Regions from separate parts of the Homo sapiens genome. Here regions 1, 2, 3, 4 and 5 are each linked to region 6. Evidence: promoter capture Hi-C in 16 types of primary human blood cells and fetal thymus (Javierre and others, 2016). All regions are on one chromosome and are shown on one strand. The core of a region is centred on a gene start or on the middle of the fragment in contact, and the rest is flanking DNA. Distances in the headings are between cores, read along the strand shown.

Evidence for each region. The method cuts DNA at HindIII sites, captures the fragments that hold promoters and counts their contacts. A CHiCAGO score of 5 or more calls a contact.
Region 1: a contact is called between the fragment with the promoter of FDXACB1 here and the fragment with the promoter of CWF19L2 in region 6, in 4 of 17 cell types (total CD4 T cells, naive CD8 T cells, non-activated CD4 T cells and 1 more). The highest score is 14.5, in total CD4 T cells.
Region 2: a contact is called between a fragment that was not itself captured here and the fragment with the promoter of CWF19L2 in region 6, in 3 of 17 cell types (fetal thymus, total CD4 T cells and naive CD8 T cells). The highest score is 7.4, in fetal thymus.
Region 3: a contact is called between a fragment that was not itself captured here and the fragment with the promoter of CWF19L2 in region 6, in 1 of 17 cell types (non-activated CD4 T cells). The highest score is 6.0, in non-activated CD4 T cells.
Region 4: a fragment that was not itself captured here is called in contact with the fragment with the promoter of CWF19L2 in region 6 in 1 of 17 cell types (fetal thymus); the score reaches 7.2 in fetal thymus.
Region 5: a fragment that was not itself captured here is called in contact with the fragment with the promoter of CWF19L2 in region 6 in 6 of 17 cell types (naive CD4 T cells, non-activated CD4 T cells, naive CD8 T cells and 3 more); the score reaches 8.1 in naive CD4 T cells.

The regions. Positions count from the first base shown.
Region 1 is chr11:111,877,869-111,880,568 of GRCh38, forward strand. It overlaps FDXACB1 (ferredoxin-fold anticodon binding domain containing 1), which reads right to left and starts at 1,297. Exons shown (of 5, transcript NM_138378.3): 1 at 1,093-1,297; 2 at 688-844. The coding sequence starts at 1,264. CFAP68 (cilia and flagella associated protein 68) reads left to right here and starts at 1,673. Exons shown (of 4, transcript NM_022761.3): 1 at 1,673-1,737. The coding sequence starts at 1,693. RefSeq lists enhancers at 965-1,584, 1,081-1,550. The HindIII fragment of the contact is 2,066 bases long and covers 14-2,079 here.
Region 2 is chr11:112,227,176-112,229,875 of GRCh38, forward strand. It overlaps PTS (6-pyruvoyltetrahydropterin synthase), which reads left to right. Exons shown (of 6, transcript NM_000317.3): 2 at 1,419-1,498. Among named protein-coding and RNA genes, the nearest start is that of PTS, 2.1 kb to the left of the region's middle. RefSeq lists a silencer at 1-185. The HindIII fragment of the contact is 1,163 bases long and covers 733-1,895 here.
Region 3 is chr11:103,072,370-103,075,069 of GRCh38, forward strand. The region is part of intron 4 of DCUN1D5 (defective in cullin neddylation 1 domain containing 5); the gene reads right to left. Among named protein-coding and RNA genes, the nearest start is that of DCUN1D5, 18 kb to the right of the region's middle. The HindIII fragment of the contact is 5,346 bases long and covers 1-2,700 here.
Region 4 is chr11:112,082,325-112,085,024 of GRCh38, forward strand. NKAPD1 (NKAP domain containing 1) reads left to right here. Exons shown (of 6, transcript NM_018195.4): 6 at 141-2,700. The coding sequence ends at 648. TIMM8B (translocase of inner mitochondrial membrane 8 homolog B) reads right to left here. Exons shown (of 2, transcript NM_012459.4): 2 at 2,476-2,700. Among named protein-coding and RNA genes, the nearest start is that of TIMM8B, 3.1 kb to the right of the region's middle. The HindIII fragment of the contact is 989 bases long and covers 808-1,796 here.
Region 5 is chr11:103,095,607-103,098,306 of GRCh38, forward strand. No RefSeq gene overlaps it. Among named protein-coding and RNA genes, the nearest start is that of DCUN1D5, 4.8 kb to the left of the region's middle. The HindIII fragment of the contact is 8,986 bases long and covers 1-2,700 here.
Region 6 is chr11:107,456,471-107,459,170 of GRCh38, forward strand. It overlaps CWF19L2 (CWF19 like cell cycle control factor 2), which reads right to left and starts at 1,355. Exons shown (of 18, transcript NM_152434.3): 1 at 1,242-1,355. The coding sequence starts at 1,346. RefSeq lists an enhancer at 1,134-1,639. The HindIII fragment of the contact is 1,493 bases long and covers 631-2,123 here.

The DNA of each region.
Region 1 (2,700 bases), core at 47-2,546, 4.4 Mb after region 6:
TAAAGATTAAGTAAGCTTGCTTAAAATAACAACTGTTGGCCGGGCGTGGTGGCTCATGCCTGTAATCCCAGCACTTTAGGAGGCCAAGGCAGGCGGATCACAAGGTCAGGAGATCGACACCATCCTGGCTAACACGGTGAAACCCCATCTCTACTAAAAATACAAAAAATTAGCTGGGCGTGGTGGCGGGCGCCTGTACTCCCAGCTACTTGGGAGGCTGAGGCAGGAGAATGGCGTGAACCCAGTAGGCGGAGCTTGCAGTGAGCCGAGATTGCACCACACCACTGCACTCCAGCCTGGGCGACAGGGCGAGACTCTGTCTCAAAAAATAAAAATAAATAAAAATAAAAAAATAACAACTGTTAAGTGGTGGGCTGGGATTTGAATCCAGGCAGTCTGGCTTCTAAGTGCACGTTCTTAGCCATTAGACTATATGGCTCTCATTATTTTGCACTGTCAAAAATAAATGATCCTCTTTTACACACCCAAGAGTACATTATTTGTACTTTCATTTAGCATTTAGGGTTTATATATCTGTCTTTCCAACTAAACTTGGGGTTCCTTTGGGGCTTTATAGTCTCTTCTAAACATATCATAGTAGCTTGCACGTGTGCCTTATGTTTGGGTACAGTAACTATGTTATGGACATCTTAAACATTTTCCTTGTGAGGGCGCTCCTTTCCTCACCTTTGGAAAAATTTGGCAAGCAGTTCCCTGTTCTTAGCTACGCCAGCTTTGCGTCCACAATGCGGGAAGATGAAATAAATTTGATCAAATTCTCTCTCGTGCAGTTCAAAGACATCTGCCAGCTGGGTGCAGTCCACACCGAAACGTACATCGATACCTGGCAAAGATAGTTTGGGGGCGCAAAATATAGACAGGAGGATGCCTCAAGACATGGAACAGAAAAACTCTTCCTAACTTAAACCGTGCAGACCAGCCCAAGTCTGGGCACAAAGCCGGCTTTATGTGAATATCCGTGGGACGATCAAGAACAATCTCCACGTGGGTTACATCCCCACGCCCCCACCCTTTCCACTTTGGGACGCGCCGGCCGCTGGGCGGGGTTTCGCAGAGGGGCGGGCTCGCTACCTCGCTCGCGCAGGCACTGCAGATTCTCCCAGGCCAGTGGATCCCGAGCCAACTCGGCCGGGCGCTGGAGGCAGGTGGCGGTAAGTTGAGTGCTCTGATCCAGGGTTTCGCTCAGAGCGGCGGCGAAGGAGAAATTCCCCTCCCCAACCAACAGGAGGCGCCGAGGGGCCATGGCCTCCACGGACTCCCGGCTCGCGTTCTCTGTGGCGCTCGTTTTACGTCACTTCCTTCACGGATCTCTCTCCGCCCCGTCTTCTCCCGTCACTAGTTGATGACGCACCCATGGCGCCTGGTTGTCTAGACGAGCCGGTGTACCGACTCCCCGGTGGATGATAACTATGAGTGCAAAAGCAAGACGCGCACTTTCCTGTCACCTCGCCCTTTCACCCCCTCGGGAAGATCAAAGTGTCTTTAGCCCAAGCATGGCCTTGAGCGACTTCATCACACCTGCATGAGGTCACAAGCAGTCACTAGCGCAGGGGGGTGAGGCGAGTTCTGGGTGAAAGAAACGGGGCGGGGCTGAGGCCAAGGAAGAGGTTGGACTGTGTCTCGCATGCTCCTGACGCAGAAGGTTTTGAACCTTTTTTCACCTCGTCTGAAATGGCTGCCTCCCAGTGTCTCTGCTGCTCAAAATTTCTCTTCCAGGTGCTTAAATCTCCTATCTTCTATTCGTTCAAGAAAGAGTATTGAGTGTCTATTGCGTGCCAGGCCACTGTGAGGGTGGTTACGATATGTGGATGAACAAAATGTGGCCTATGATTTCAATGAGCCTGCAGTCTGGTGGGGAATGCACAGAGCAAAACAGGCAACTCTGATATGGCAGGGTGTGTGCTCTGGGAGCACACAGAAGAACGTTACCAAGTTTGGGGGCGAAGAGGGTCAGAGAGTCCTTGGATGAAGTAAACCCGAGTTGAAAGCTAACAGGGTAAAAGTGCATCTTAACTGAGTCAAGAGGCGTGAAGAGGCAGAAGGAACAATATATGCAAAAGCTTGATGGAGAAACAGAATAGTTGAGTTTGGCTGAAACACAATTGGAGGGAGAGTAACAGATGAGACTGAAGAGTTAGGCAGGGGCCAGGTCATAGGGAGCGTTGTAAGCCTTTAAAAAAAATCAACTTTTATTTTACAAATGGGGGTACAGGTACAGGTTTGTTACGTGGATATATTGCACCCAGGTAGGTTGCAGGTTTGCTACATGGGTATATTGCACCTAATAGTTTTTCAACCCACACCACCCGCCCTCCCCACTCTAGTTAGTAGCCTGGAGTGTGTGTTGTTTCCATGTTTAGGTCCATGTTTGCTCAATGTTTAGCTCCCACTTATAAGTGAGAATGTCAGAGGTATTTATACCAGAGCAACTCCGTCTTGAATAGGGGCTAGGTAAATAAGGCTAAGACCTGGGCTGCATTCCCAGTAAGTTAAGGCATTCTTAGTCACAGGATGAGATAGCTCAGCACAAGATACAGGTCATAAAGACCTTGCTGATAAAACGGGTTGCAGTAAAGAAGCCAGCTAAAATCCACCAAAACCGAGATGGTGATGAGAGTGATCTCTGGTCATCCTCATTGCTACACTCCCACCAGCGCCATGACAGTTTACAAATGCCAT
Region 2 (2,700 bases), core at 64-2,563, 4.8 Mb after region 6:
ACCACGCACTAACCAGCTCCACCCTCTGGCCCTCCGTATCGTCGTCTGTGAAATGAGGATGACCATCGCTATCTAACAGGATTCATCCCTCCATTCGCTAAACCAGGTTTTGTTTCGTGCTTGTCAGGGCTTGTGCTAGGTAACGGATGCATCAGGGATCTTGTATGGGGTTTCCAATCTGGCCTATTTTGTGGAGGGTACACTGAGAAAATTTTGTGCAAAAGACTTTAGCACTCTAAATACAAGAAGTGGCTGAGCAGGAGAAAGTGGGGGTGTGTTATTCCATTTTGCATTGCCACAAAGGAATACTGAGACTGGTATTTTATAAAGAAAAGAGGTTTATTTGGTTCTGCAGGCTGTACAAGAAGCATGGCACCAGCATCTGCTTCTGTTGAGGCCTCAGGGACCTTCCACTCATGGTGGAAGGCGAAGGGCGAGCAAGCAGGCAACTCACAGGGCAAGTGAGGGAGCAAGAGAGAGGAGAGGAGGTGCCAGGCTTTTTTTAACAACCAGCTCGCCCATTGACTAATAGAGCGAGAACTCACTCATTGCTTCAGGGAGGGCACCAAGCCATTCATAAGGGATCCACTTCCATGAGCCAAACATCTCCCACTAGGCCCCATCTCCAACACTGGGGATCACATTTCAACATGACAATTGGAGGGGACAAACATCCAAACTACATTGGGGGGAATAATAAAGAGGATCTCAAAAAAAAGGGGTTGTATAATAAGCTTAAACACCTGAGGGTGGTAAGGTCTCATAGACGATGCGAAATTGAATGGATGGGTATAAGTATAAACATTAAGCAATTTGTTTTCTGTCTGAGACGACAGCCAAAGATTGTAATTTTAAAAATTCACCTGCTTGGAATATTCCTCAACAGATTGGTAAAGTTCTCATGAGGCAGTAGTTGAGACATAGTATAAAGCAAGATTGCTAAATAGGAGACTTACCAGGTCATGTAATTTTTTTAAATTATTTTTTCTGGATGAGTAGTTTAGCTTCTGAGAGAAATGAGATAGTAAGCCACTTTGCGGATCACCATCTATGTTTATCATTATATGCTGTTATTTCATTCAGCACTTGCCTGTTACATTGTAGGCACTCAGTAATGTTGAATTGAAAAGTGGAAGGCCCATGAGCAGATCAGTTGCTGTGGAACAAGGGGGTTGAAGTTAAGGTTTGTTTGTGCTAATTTGTATGGTACAATCTTCTAATTAGGGAATATGCCATGGTTTGTGACGTATACGTAAGTAATAAAATCAACATGATTTCTGACTCTCCCTTTGGTGAGCTAAAGTAATAAATTGGGAAACTTTTCAAAGATCAGTACAAATAATAAATATAAGGAACAGAGAAGGGGGTTTGAATGTGATACTTGTGTCATGCTGACTTTTTTTTTTTTTTTTGGTCAGTAAATTTCTAAGTGATGAAGAAAACTTGAAACTGTTTGGGAAATGCAACAATCCAAATGGCCATGGGCACAATTATAAAGGTGAGAGAAAAACTGATGACATTTCAGCCCTTCAATAAGGATGAAAGAGTATTCAGCAAATGTAGACATAAAGAATGGGAAAACTTACGGACACAGTGTGAATGCTTTGAGCCTTGAATGAGAAATTAAATGGGAGTTCAGAATGAAAGGATCTGTTGTCTTGGTTGGGTGTGTGTTAAGTTTTACCTTGCAATGTCAACTCTTACAAACAGTCCAAAACAATGAATGGTTTAAAGCATTTTTCTTTGTCCTAGAGTACACAACAAGTTTCTTTCTGATTAGGTATGGCCAAGGCTAATGTTAAAATTAGATTTTATTCTTTGAGTAAATAATGACTGACAAAAGGGGAATGTTGCCTAGGAATGTAATGTATGGCAGAAAAATAGGTTTGGTCTAAAGCTTTGCCAGCAGTGTTCGAAGAAAGTAGGTAATTTGTTCAAGGATAAGAGACTTGATTCTTTGAGGTACAGCCTGCCTTAAAAAACAGGTACATAAGTCGTAGAGTATAAAACAGTATGTGGTGTGGTGGCATAAAAAAAAACAGACAAGGTGTCAGGAGATTAGGATTACTGGTTTAGCTACAGCCTCTTCCTTAATCTATGGTATCTCAGTCTCAGTGTACTCACTTACATGTAATATCTAATGGTATTTGTACAGAACTAAAATACATAAATTCATAAAAGTTATTAATGTGTAAAGCACTGATAAAGTTTTTTTTTGTTGTTGTTGTTTTTTTTTTTGAGATGGAGTTCCACTCTTTTTGCCCAGGCTGGAATGGTGTGATCTCCCGTCACTACAACCTCCACCTCCCAGGTTCGAGCGATTCTCCAGCCTCAGCCTCCCGAGTAGCTGAGATTACAGGCGCCCGCCACTATGCCTGGCTAATTTTTGTATTTTTAGTAGAGATGGGGTTTCACCATGTTGGCCAGGCTGCTCTCAAACTCCAGACCTCAGGTGATCTGCCCGCCTCGGCCTCCCGAAGTGCTGGGATTACAGGCTTGAGCCACCACGCCTGGCCAAGATTTTTCAAATGCTTCTCACAAGCACTTTTTAATTTACAAAGCATTACTTTAGACTTTGTATACATTCATGTGAGTAAGGGGACAAGAATTTAAGGCCCAGTAGTATTGCTTGTTCAGAAAGGTACTGCTCAGTATTGGACCAGCTTGCTGTGTAGCTGGACACCTGAAAGACATTTTCTA
Region 3 (2,700 bases), core at 186-2,685, 4.4 Mb before region 6:
AGAACTAGAAATACCATTTGACCCAGCCATCCCATTACTGGGCATATACCCAAAGGATTATAAATCATGCTGCTATAAAGACATATGCACACGTATGTTTACTGTGGCACTATTCACAATAGTAAAGACTTGGAACCATCCCAAATGTCCATCAATGATAGACTGGATTAAGAAAATGTGGCACATACACACCATGGAATACTATCCAGCCATAAAAAAGGATGAGTTCATGTCCTTTGTAGGGACAGGGATGAAGCTAGAAACCATCATTCTGAGCAAACTATCACAGGACAGAAAACCAAACACTGCATGTTCTCACTCATAGGTGGGAACTGAACAATGAGAACACTTGGACACAGGGTGGGGAACATCACACACCGGGGCCTGTCGGGGGGTGGGGGGAGGGGGGAGGGATAGCATTAGGAGATATACCTAACATAAACGACGAGCTAACGGGTGCAGCACCAACATGGCACATGTATACATATGTAACAAACCTGCACGTTGTGCACATGTACCCTAGAACTTGAAGTATAATAATAAAAGAAATAAAAGATATATAGATCAGAAAAGAGAAATAAACTGTCCCTATTTCTAGATGACATGACTATGTAGAAAATCCAAGGTCTATACAGAAAACATCTTAGAACGAACAGGTGAGTTCAGCAAGGTCACAGGATACAAGATAAACATATAAAAATCAATTGTATTTCTATATATTAGTAATGAACATGTGGACACTAAAATGTAAAATACCATTTACAACAGGTTGAAGTAAAAATAAAATACTTAGGTGTAATTCTAACAAAAGATGTACAGGACGTATATGCCGAAAACTACACAAAACTGATGAAAAAAATCAAATACCTAAAAAAATGAAGAGACATTACTATCTTCCAGTATTCAAAGCAAGACTGACAAAAAAAGAGAGAAGACAAAAATTACCAATATCAGGAATATTAAGAGTATTCAAAGACTCAAAACAGTAAAAATGTCAATTCTCCCCAAATTTATATGCTATTTAACCAAAATCTCAGCAAGATATTTTTGTAAAGAAAAGACTATTCTAAAATTTATATGGAAAAGCAAATACACTAGAATACCTAAAACAATTTTGAAACAGGATGCATAAGTCTACCTGATTTCAAGTCTTAGTATTTAGCCACAGTAATCCAGACTGTGTGGTACTGGCAGAAGGTTAAGACACATCAGTGGAACAGAGAACCCAGAAATAAATGTACACAAATATGTCCAACATTTACATAGCTTTTACAGAAATTAATTCAAAATGCACCACTGACTTACATGTAAAATTTAATAATGGAAGGCTTCTAGAAAAATACATGAGAAAATTCTCATGATATAAGGCTAGGCAAATAATTCTTAGACTTGACATCAAAAGTACAATCAAAAGTACATCAAAACTGAGGCGGGGGCTCATGTCTGTAATCCCAACATTTTTGGAGGCTCAGGCGGGCAGATCACTTGAGGTCAGGATTTTGAGACCAGCCTGGCCAACATGGTGAAATCCTGTCACTACTAAAAAATAGAAAAATTAGCCAGGTATGGTGGCACATGCATGTGTGGCTACTCGGGGGGCTGATGTGGGAGGATCGCTTGAACCCAGGAGGTGAAGGTTGAAGTCAGCCAAGATCGCAGCACAGGTTGCAGTGCAAACTGTGAGTGAGACAACTCACTGGAGTGCAACAGAGTGAGATTCTCAAAAAAAAGTACACTCCATAAAAGGAAAAACTAATAAACTGGACATCATCAAAAACTTTTGCTCTGCAAAAGACCTTGTTACAGGAATGAAAGAAGTTATAGAATGTAAGAAAATGTTTGCAAAACACACATTCAACAAAAGACTAGTATCAGCAAACTCTGAAAATTCAACAGTAAAAAAATTTATCTTCCATGTTCGTTAGCATCTCTTTCACATTCCCCTTCTGCCTCTCTGCACTAATCTCCTTAGATATCGTAGATCACTGATCCTTACAAGTCAACTACATTATCTTCTTTCTATCTCATCTGCTGAGTGTTTGTTTGTTTGTTTGTTTTGAGATTGAGTCTCGCTCTGTCCCCAGGCTGGAGTGCAGTGGTGCAATCTCAGGTCACAACCTCCACCTCCCCGGTTCAAGCGATTCTCCTGCCTTAGCCTCCCTAGTAGCTGGGACTATGGGCGTGCACCACCACATCCAGCTAATTTTTGTATTTTTAGTAGAGACAGGGTTTCACCATGTTGGCCAGGATGGTCTCAATCTCCTGACCTCGTGATTGGCCCATCTCAGCCTCCCAAAGTGCTGGGATTACAGGCGTGAGCCACCATGCCCAGGAGTTTTTAATCTGCTGTTTTTCACTTTCAGAAATTTAATTATTCGGAGTCTGATATCTGAGACCATTCTCTTTTCTGTAACCACAGAGTTGTCTTATGCGGAAATTGTGATAATTCATAAATTAATCTTAAAGGGTCTGATTCTCAAGTTCATTTTTTAAGATTGATTTCTCAATGTTTAGTGATTTCTGATTATAAACTAGTGATCACGGAACCTTTTTCTGCAAAAATTGAGGTTTGTGTAAAATTTCTCTATGGAAGAACTGCTTCCATTACAAACAGGGGAGTCTTATTCTAAAACACATTTTTGGCTTGGGTCAGATAGTGAATTCCAGCCCCAAATCTGCAAGACAGAAGATGGAGGACGA
Region 4 (2,700 bases), core at 52-2,551, 4.6 Mb after region 6:
TTAAAGTGTTAAAGTATACATTAAAGTGCTTATTTAAAATTCAGATGTTAACCTCAATTTTTTAATCTAGAATGCAAAATATTAAAATAATACGCTTTTTTTTTACATAAAAGCTTCTATTTTTTAACTTTTCTTATTAGTAGTGATCAGCAAGATATTACCAACGGGAAGAAAACATCTCCCCAGGTAAAGTCATCTACCCATGAATCCCGCAAACACAAGAAGTCAAAGAAATCCCACAAAAAAAAGCAGAAAAAAAGGTCACACAAAAAACAGAAGAAAAGCAAAAAGGAAGCCACAGATATAACAGCAGATTCCTCGAGTGAGTTCTCAGAAGAAACTGGGGCTTCTGGTACAAGGAAAGGGAAACAACCACATAAACGCAAGAAAAAATCCAGGAAAAAGTCTCTCAAAAAACCTGCTTTATTCTTAGAGGCAGAAAGTAACACTTCACATTCAGATGATTCAGCATCCAGCAGTTCTGAGGAAAGTGAGGAAAGAGACACTAAGAAAACCAAAAGGAAAAAGAGAGAGAAAAAAGCCCATACCTCTGTAGCCAACAATGAAATACAGGAGAGGACAAACAAACGCACAAATTGGAAAGTAGCTACAGATGAAAGGTCTGCTGAGAGCTCAGAGGATGACTAAATGGGAAACACTTTTGTTTTCCACATGACTGTGGATATTTACAGTTCTTACTCCTTGTGGTTTTGCCAGTGACTCTTGTTCAGCACGGGGCCTGAGGTCAGAGCTGTCTTGTGCCATCTGTATGTTCTGACAGACGTCTTGTCTTCTATTTTGGCGTTAAGCTTGATCCCCTTTTCTTGTTAAAAGGGAATCTGGTATTTTGTTATGAAGGTTTCTTGAAGAGATTATTTTTTTTTGCAATTAATTACGTTTAGTGTAGAGTGCATATACAGCAAATTAAAGGACCCAGAAAGCTGGATCCAATAGTGACCTGGGTACACCAATCGGAATATTGAATTTGGGGAAGTCAAGGGCTGGGATCAAGAGGTGGATTGGAACTAATGCCATGTAGGATGGTATGACAAGGCAACACTGTATTGCTCTCTGTTTATATAGCAGGTGTCACAACTAACTTGTCTTTAGCCTTGGTGCTTTGATCCTTCTATATTTTGACCCCACAGGTGTGGTCCGGTTTACTTAATCAGGACATGGGCCTAAGAACAAACCTTTTCCCTTCATGATAACATCCATAGACAACTTATTAGAAGGGACTAGAGTTTTTGCAAATTTCCCTGCTGGATGGGGCCTATAGCTATACTTAGTATATGCCTAAACATGGTAATTGGATAGTAAATGGTTTTCTAGTTCCATTGCTGTATATTTGCCTAAATGGACTTGTGTTCAAATTATTTCTTCAATTGTCATAGATAATCCTGTACCAAATGGGGAAGAATTAGGAAATAATCATGTTGTCTAATGGTACTCTGGATTCAGGGCAGCAACTGCCATTTAAATGTTGTCTTGTTCATTTCTAAATCTGTTCATGAAGTTTAGGTTTTCCCTGAAACTAAGTTGAATTATTTCCAAAATGAAACAGGCTTCTCAGGGACATATCCACTTCTTCCCAGTCTGCCTTTGGATTAAAGCACCAAGCAGAGACCACATTAATTCCCTTTGCTATACTGTGATCCTTAGTATGTTAATTCTTAAGAAACCAACATATCACTGAAAGAAGGCTGGCAGAACGCAAGTGCATTTTTTCACTGTGGGAAGAAAGATCAAGTGACGTATTATTTTTTCCTGGTTGTCACTTAATGGGCTGAGTAAAAAGCTTGAAAACTCAGACTTTCGGTCTTGGTTCTGCCACTCATTGGTTATGAGGAGGCCCAGAGCAGGTAAGTTCACCTTCCTGGCCTTACTTTCCTGATGTGTAATACGGAATTACTTCACAGTAGCATGACAGTATAAGACACCAGCAGTAGATACAACTATGATGACATTCCATGAGTTGGTATTTTTAGTTCTAACTGCTAAATTTGTTCTCTTTACGGGACAGATTTCTAATAAAGTGCTTGGTCTTAAAATACATGGTTGGACAGAGGTGCCCTATCCCTTAACTATGAGCAGGTGCTACCTTTTGGGATATTTATTTTAAATTTTAATACTTTGGTACTCAATTGTCAGTGTTCCATGGTGTGTATTTTTATTTTTGGGATTAGTGGGGGTCTAAAGGGAGAAGAATAGTCTCTAATTACTACCTCTTAACCTAAAGCAATTATTTTGTTCCTGGAGCAAGTTAAATCTTTGTTGGAAGGAGCTTTGGCCATATATTTTTTAGCATGCATTGTTTCTGTGCCCTGAAAGTACCTGAAAGGTTTTAAGCACAGACTCAGGAAAATGTGCCAGTAGAACAGGCCATCTCCAGGAAATTGGCTCTATTTGGGTCCTGACCTTCCCTTCCTCCCAAGTTAGCAGGCTTGTTCTTTCGCAAGGAATACACATCTTGCCTTTTTTTTTTTTTTTTTGCCATGTTTTCCTTTTCTTGGTCATGTATAAGCAATAAAGCTGTTTTTTGTTCTTCATCTTTCTTAACCCCAAATTTTCTTCTATGCCTTAGGCTTCGATGGTTCTTCCAACCCCCTTAATATGGCTTAGGGTGGTTTTTCAAAACCTACAATCCCCCATTTGCACTACTGGCCATGGAACATTTATTTCTAGTGTTCCTGCCAATCA
Region 5 (2,700 bases), core at 1-2,500, 4.4 Mb before region 6:
GAAAAACATCTTTTAAAATAGTTATATCTCTGTCAAGGTATCCAAAAATAGTACTCTAAGATGTGTTAATTTATATATTCCGTACATAGTTTAGTTTTTCTTAACACCTCTTTAAAATAGGACTTTCCTACTTGGGAGAATAACAAGCAACACAGACATTAAGTGATTTATGGGATGCCGCGTTATTGTGGTCCTGGATCTGTGCAGATGCTCTCCCTTCCATATATTAATGTTGATTTTTAAAACAGCATTGTAGTTAAAAATTTTCTGAAATGTTTTCATGCACATAAATCTACAGAAAGATAACTCTAAGAGAATAGTAGAAATGGGATGTCAAGACAGGATTTTTTGTTTTGGCATTTCAGTATAGCCTACAAGAACTCCTTGTGTTTTAGAGAGGCCCAGAGGTGCAGAACTGTGTAACACATGACACTTACCCCCTACACCCTAAAGCGGTGTGCCAGACCACATCAATTTTAGCTTGGCTGTGACTGTGGTTCACTCTGGGATCTAGACTGAGGGAACAGTCACTACCTAGAACACTGCTTGTCATCATGACAGAGAGAAAGAACAACATGGTAAATCCCATGCTGCCTCTTGAGGATTCTGCCCCGAAGTGACACATTAATCCTGTTCAAGTCATATGGCTACACCTGAGGTCACGAGGGCAGGAATGTATGATCCCCCTGCAGAGAGAAACATCAAGTAAAGGTAAATACAGCCTACTACAGTAAGAGACTGGACTGAAATTTTGTTCAAAGCATAGGGAAAAATGAGTTCACAGTGCAGTTTTAAAGAGGCAGTAGGAAAAAGCATAAGATTGGTTTCAGCTTATACCTCACCGTGGCAGTTTATATTCTTCAAAGGTGGTCACAGCAATATCTCTCATCCCACATATTCTAGAAACTTACCATTTCCTATCAAAAAGTGAAGTCTAGTTGAAAAAAAAAATCAATATTGGTTCATTCATTGTGGGAAATGTACCATACCAATGTAAGACATTAGTAATAGGGGAAACTGGGTGTGGGATATATGAGCAGTTTCTGTAGTATCATTGCAATTTTTCCACAAAATTAAAACTCTTCTAAAATAAATTATTAAAAAGTCACAGTGAATGGGAAAAAATAAAATTTAGAAAATAGTAAAGTACAGGAAGAAAGAGTAATGATTCAAAGGAGCTGCCTAGGTTGGATGCTTTTGGAAAGGTAAGAATCGAAAAAATTCTGGATGTGGGATCATAGGTAGAAAGCAATGTCTTGTATATCAGCTGGCCAAGGACAGAGCAATTTCAACTTGAAACCTAACCAGGAAGACTAAGAACAAGTGCTCAGGTGGGAAATTGTATTAAGCAGTACACCTGATTTGCTTTCCCATATGTGAATATGTACCCCAAATGAAGAAAAGTAGTTCAGGCCAGGTGCCGTGGCTCATGCCTGTAATCCCAGGACTTTGGGAGGCCGAGGTGAGTGGATCACTTGAGGCAAGGAGTTCGAGACCAGTCTGGCCAACATGGACAAAACTCTGTTCCTACTAAAGATACAAAAATTAGCCGGGCGTGGTGGCGCATGCCTGTAATCTCAGCTCTGCGGAGGCTGAGGCAGGAGAATCTCTTGAACCTGGGAGGTGGAGGTTGCAGTGAGCCAAGATCATGGCACTGCACTCCAGCCTAGGTGACAAAGCAAGACTCTGTCTTAAAAAAAAGTAGTTCACAGAACCAAAATTACTGGCAGAGGTTGTATTGTTTTGATGACTTGCTGAAGAGAACTCTCTTTTTGTTTGGATGAGATGGTAGAGAAGACCAAAATTGAATGGAGACAGCTTGCACTGGGTATGTTCTTAAGTGTAGTTTCCTAATTTTGGTATTTGCTGAATAGGCATTTATCACACTATACACTTCCAAGACTTAACATTGGAAAGTGGCATAGTGTAAAGGGTTTGTTAAAATAAGAACCACCATTAGACTGATGAATTTCCTTTTTAACTTTGCAAACTTGATAAAACATTTAACCATGTTGTGACTCAGTTTTGTTCTTTGTAAGATAAAATAATAATACTTGCCTTGTCTGACATCACAGCATTGTGGTGTTGAAAAAAATGAGAAAATAAATGTTAAATAAATGTTTTGATAACAATGTTATCAAAATTGCTAAAGGGTACAAAACCACGTATCAGTTGAGGTCTTTAGAGTACATTAAACAAAAATCAAATTCTATATTTAGCAAGAGGATATATTTTGAAGCATTTTACAGAATCAAAGGAAGGCGTTGCAATGAAGGAGATACGTAAAAGGAGTGAGTTGTCTTGGTTTTTATCCTCACCCAAATTCTGATAATGGAGCTTTCTTATCTATATCACTACCACCTTTTTGATGACTTCATCTTTAGTTGCAGGGATATTAACAATAACCATGTTTTCAGCCATTGAAAATAGGGTCATCTACACTGGGCAGTTTGAATGGGATTCAGCAAATTCTTGGGCCATGGCTATGCATGACTTCTTTGGAAAATCCATAGGTAACATGTGAGCAGTTATGGAAAGCCACTGGTGAGGACCACTCAGCACAGAGAAGATCAGTTCACATGATTGCAGCAGAGGCAGTTATTCTTAGAAAGGCAGTTAATGGTCTGCAAAGAGTCGGACATTTATTTGGCACCCACCTTGCTCTCGTCTCTGACAGTGATAGTGTTGGTGTCTCTTGAT
Region 6 (2,700 bases), core at 105-2,604:
CACATTACATATGTTGAAATTACGAAACAATACCAACATTTCACCTACCCAAGACTAATCGCCCACTCTTCCCCTTTAAAACCTGGCTGTAGTCATTTTCTTTTTTTTTTTAATCAAATATAAAAATAATTTATTAAAGGTTTATATCAGAGAACTGCTGAAGCAACAAGAACTAGAAGAGTTAATATTCCAGAAAAGGGAAAATCATGGAGAGGTAGTCCAACATTCTGCAGCTAGCTTTTCCCTGGGTGCATATAATAATTCTTGGTGTAGGCAAGAAGATGAATACAATGGTTATATACCAAACAGAAAAATCGATATCAGAGAAAAGAGCAGGGCTTATGATGGACTCCAAAGAACAGGGTGAGAAAATTGGAGATTAAAGGAGAATGGGGCTGCTTCACCCTCAAATTATTTGCCAAATTTTGAAACTATGTCATTTTCCCTTTAGAGTCTCCTCTCCCTCTTCTCTGCTGGCTCCTTCTCATTTGCATTTAAACTTGTTTAAAACTCTTCCAACTTAAATAAAAACAAAAACCCTCACTGAATTCTCTGTTGCTCTCCAACTGCAACTTTTCTCTTTCATTGCCACACTTCTTACATATTGAATAGATTGTCAGATAATTCAGAAGCTTACTTTCTCCATTCTTTGTATGTTACCTCTATGTATCTGAAGTTTAGTGAGAAATACAATGTTTCGCGATCTTTTGTGACAGGCTAAATATACTGAGATTGGTGTTAACTTTTGTTTGGATTGGTAAGAGCTTACAGTAAGTCTGGAATTGATACCAATAGAGACAGGAGGAGGAAATGTCAAACTGAGTCTATTCAAGTGTGACTTGAATGTGTTTCCGAAAAAGGAAAATCTCATTTCAGATACAGCAGTAGCAATGACTGAGGCTGCGAGACATGCTGGCAGAGTCCTTACAAGCCGCAGGGGACCTACAAAGTGTGCAGTCCGAGTGATAGAAATGTAAAGAATGGGTAACTTAAAAGGTAAAGAAACTTGGAGAAAAAGCGACAGATCTGCCTGAAAAGAGAATTAGCAACTGGCACCTGCCAGAACATCTAAAAAATCGGTAGCTACAAAAGGGTTTACCGGCATTGCAAAGGGAGAACTCACCCAAATTAAGGTGAGATTCAGTACTGACGAGGTAAGGGAAGGGGTGAGTGGGCTAGCTTACGGGAACCCTCAACTCCCACAACAATAAATAACTACAAAAGCCCCAAAACAGAGGTACCTGGCGCAACACCTCGGCCCTGGCATTCCGGGTCTGTTCTTTCCGCTCTTCGATACTCTTCGCACTTTCAAATCTACCACTAGCAGCCGCCATACTTGTTGCCATCGTAAAGCTAAGAAGCCGCAAGAAAATTCTAGTTTACGACGGTCGTAATTTAACAAACAAACCGGGACTTCCGGACCCGAGGAAGGAGGAGCACGGCTCCACCAACAGGGCATGCGCACATCTGAGGTCGCTTAGGGCTCGGATTACCGCAGCCCAGATTTTAAAGACCCGAAGGGTGTTGGAGGGTTTAATTCTTTCAGGTGTTGGGTGCGATTGTGAGCAGGATTAATACCCGTATATATTTATTATGCACTTTTTACTATATTAACAGCTTTCTCACCAATTTCGTCTTAAAATCACCGGAGTAAGTTACAAGCTCTTGGAAGTTAAGTTGGTACCTCTCAAAAGTTTTCTGCGGAAGTACCCTTTGTCGCCAGAGCATCATTTCCCTGTGCTGGAGGAATGGGATAAAGGGAGGCTGCCAGAAAGGTAGTGGCAGCTGGCAGGAAGGACAGAATTGCCTTGAAGATTCAGTGTTTTGTTTTGGTGGATTTTACTTAATATATGAAACACTCATGTGAATTTTGCATTGCACTTCACAATTTACCCGTGCTTAACTTGTTAGAAGTTTACATTATATTTTTTCCTCTGACCCCATATTATTTACTCATACTTATCCATCCAAGCATTTTTCATTACAATGGACAGTTACTTATTTATTTCTGCGGAGATTTCTTTGTTTTGTTTTACGCATGTATCGCCCAAACATAAAACTTTTAAGTTCAGAAGAATAAGACATTCTAAGGTGATGAAGTGCTTTGAGAACATAAGACACTAAGCTTACATTTACAAGAAGAAGAAGGCTGGGGAATTAATTATAAACGATACCTTAAAGACGCTAAAAATAAGTAACATAAGCCAGGTTGAGGTAAATACTCTTTCTCTTCAGGTTTCATAAAATTTAATGTGTGTTTGCAAGAAGCTTTCCAAGAGTTTTTACATTCACTACCATTCTATGAGTCTGAATCTTGAACACACAATGCCTACTTGTTTGATATGCAATAGAAAGTATTCATTTTATTTTAAAATGTAATTTACTAATCGACCTTGTAATATTTAATCAACTGACTACATTGACTGATATTTGTCATAACTAGCATCAACGTCTTTTCAGATTCTCTTGGAATTCAGAAAAACATCCATTTCACTGTTTTGCATCAATTCAATAAAAATAAACTGTGATTATATTAGAAACGTGTGTGTTTTAATCAGTTCAGGCTGCTATAACAAAATATTATAGAATGGATGGCTTATAAATAACAAACAAGTATGTCTTACAGTTCTGGAGGCTGGATAAAATCAAGGTGTTGGGCTATTTGCTGTCTAGTGAAGGTGTGTCCTGGTTCCTAGAGGG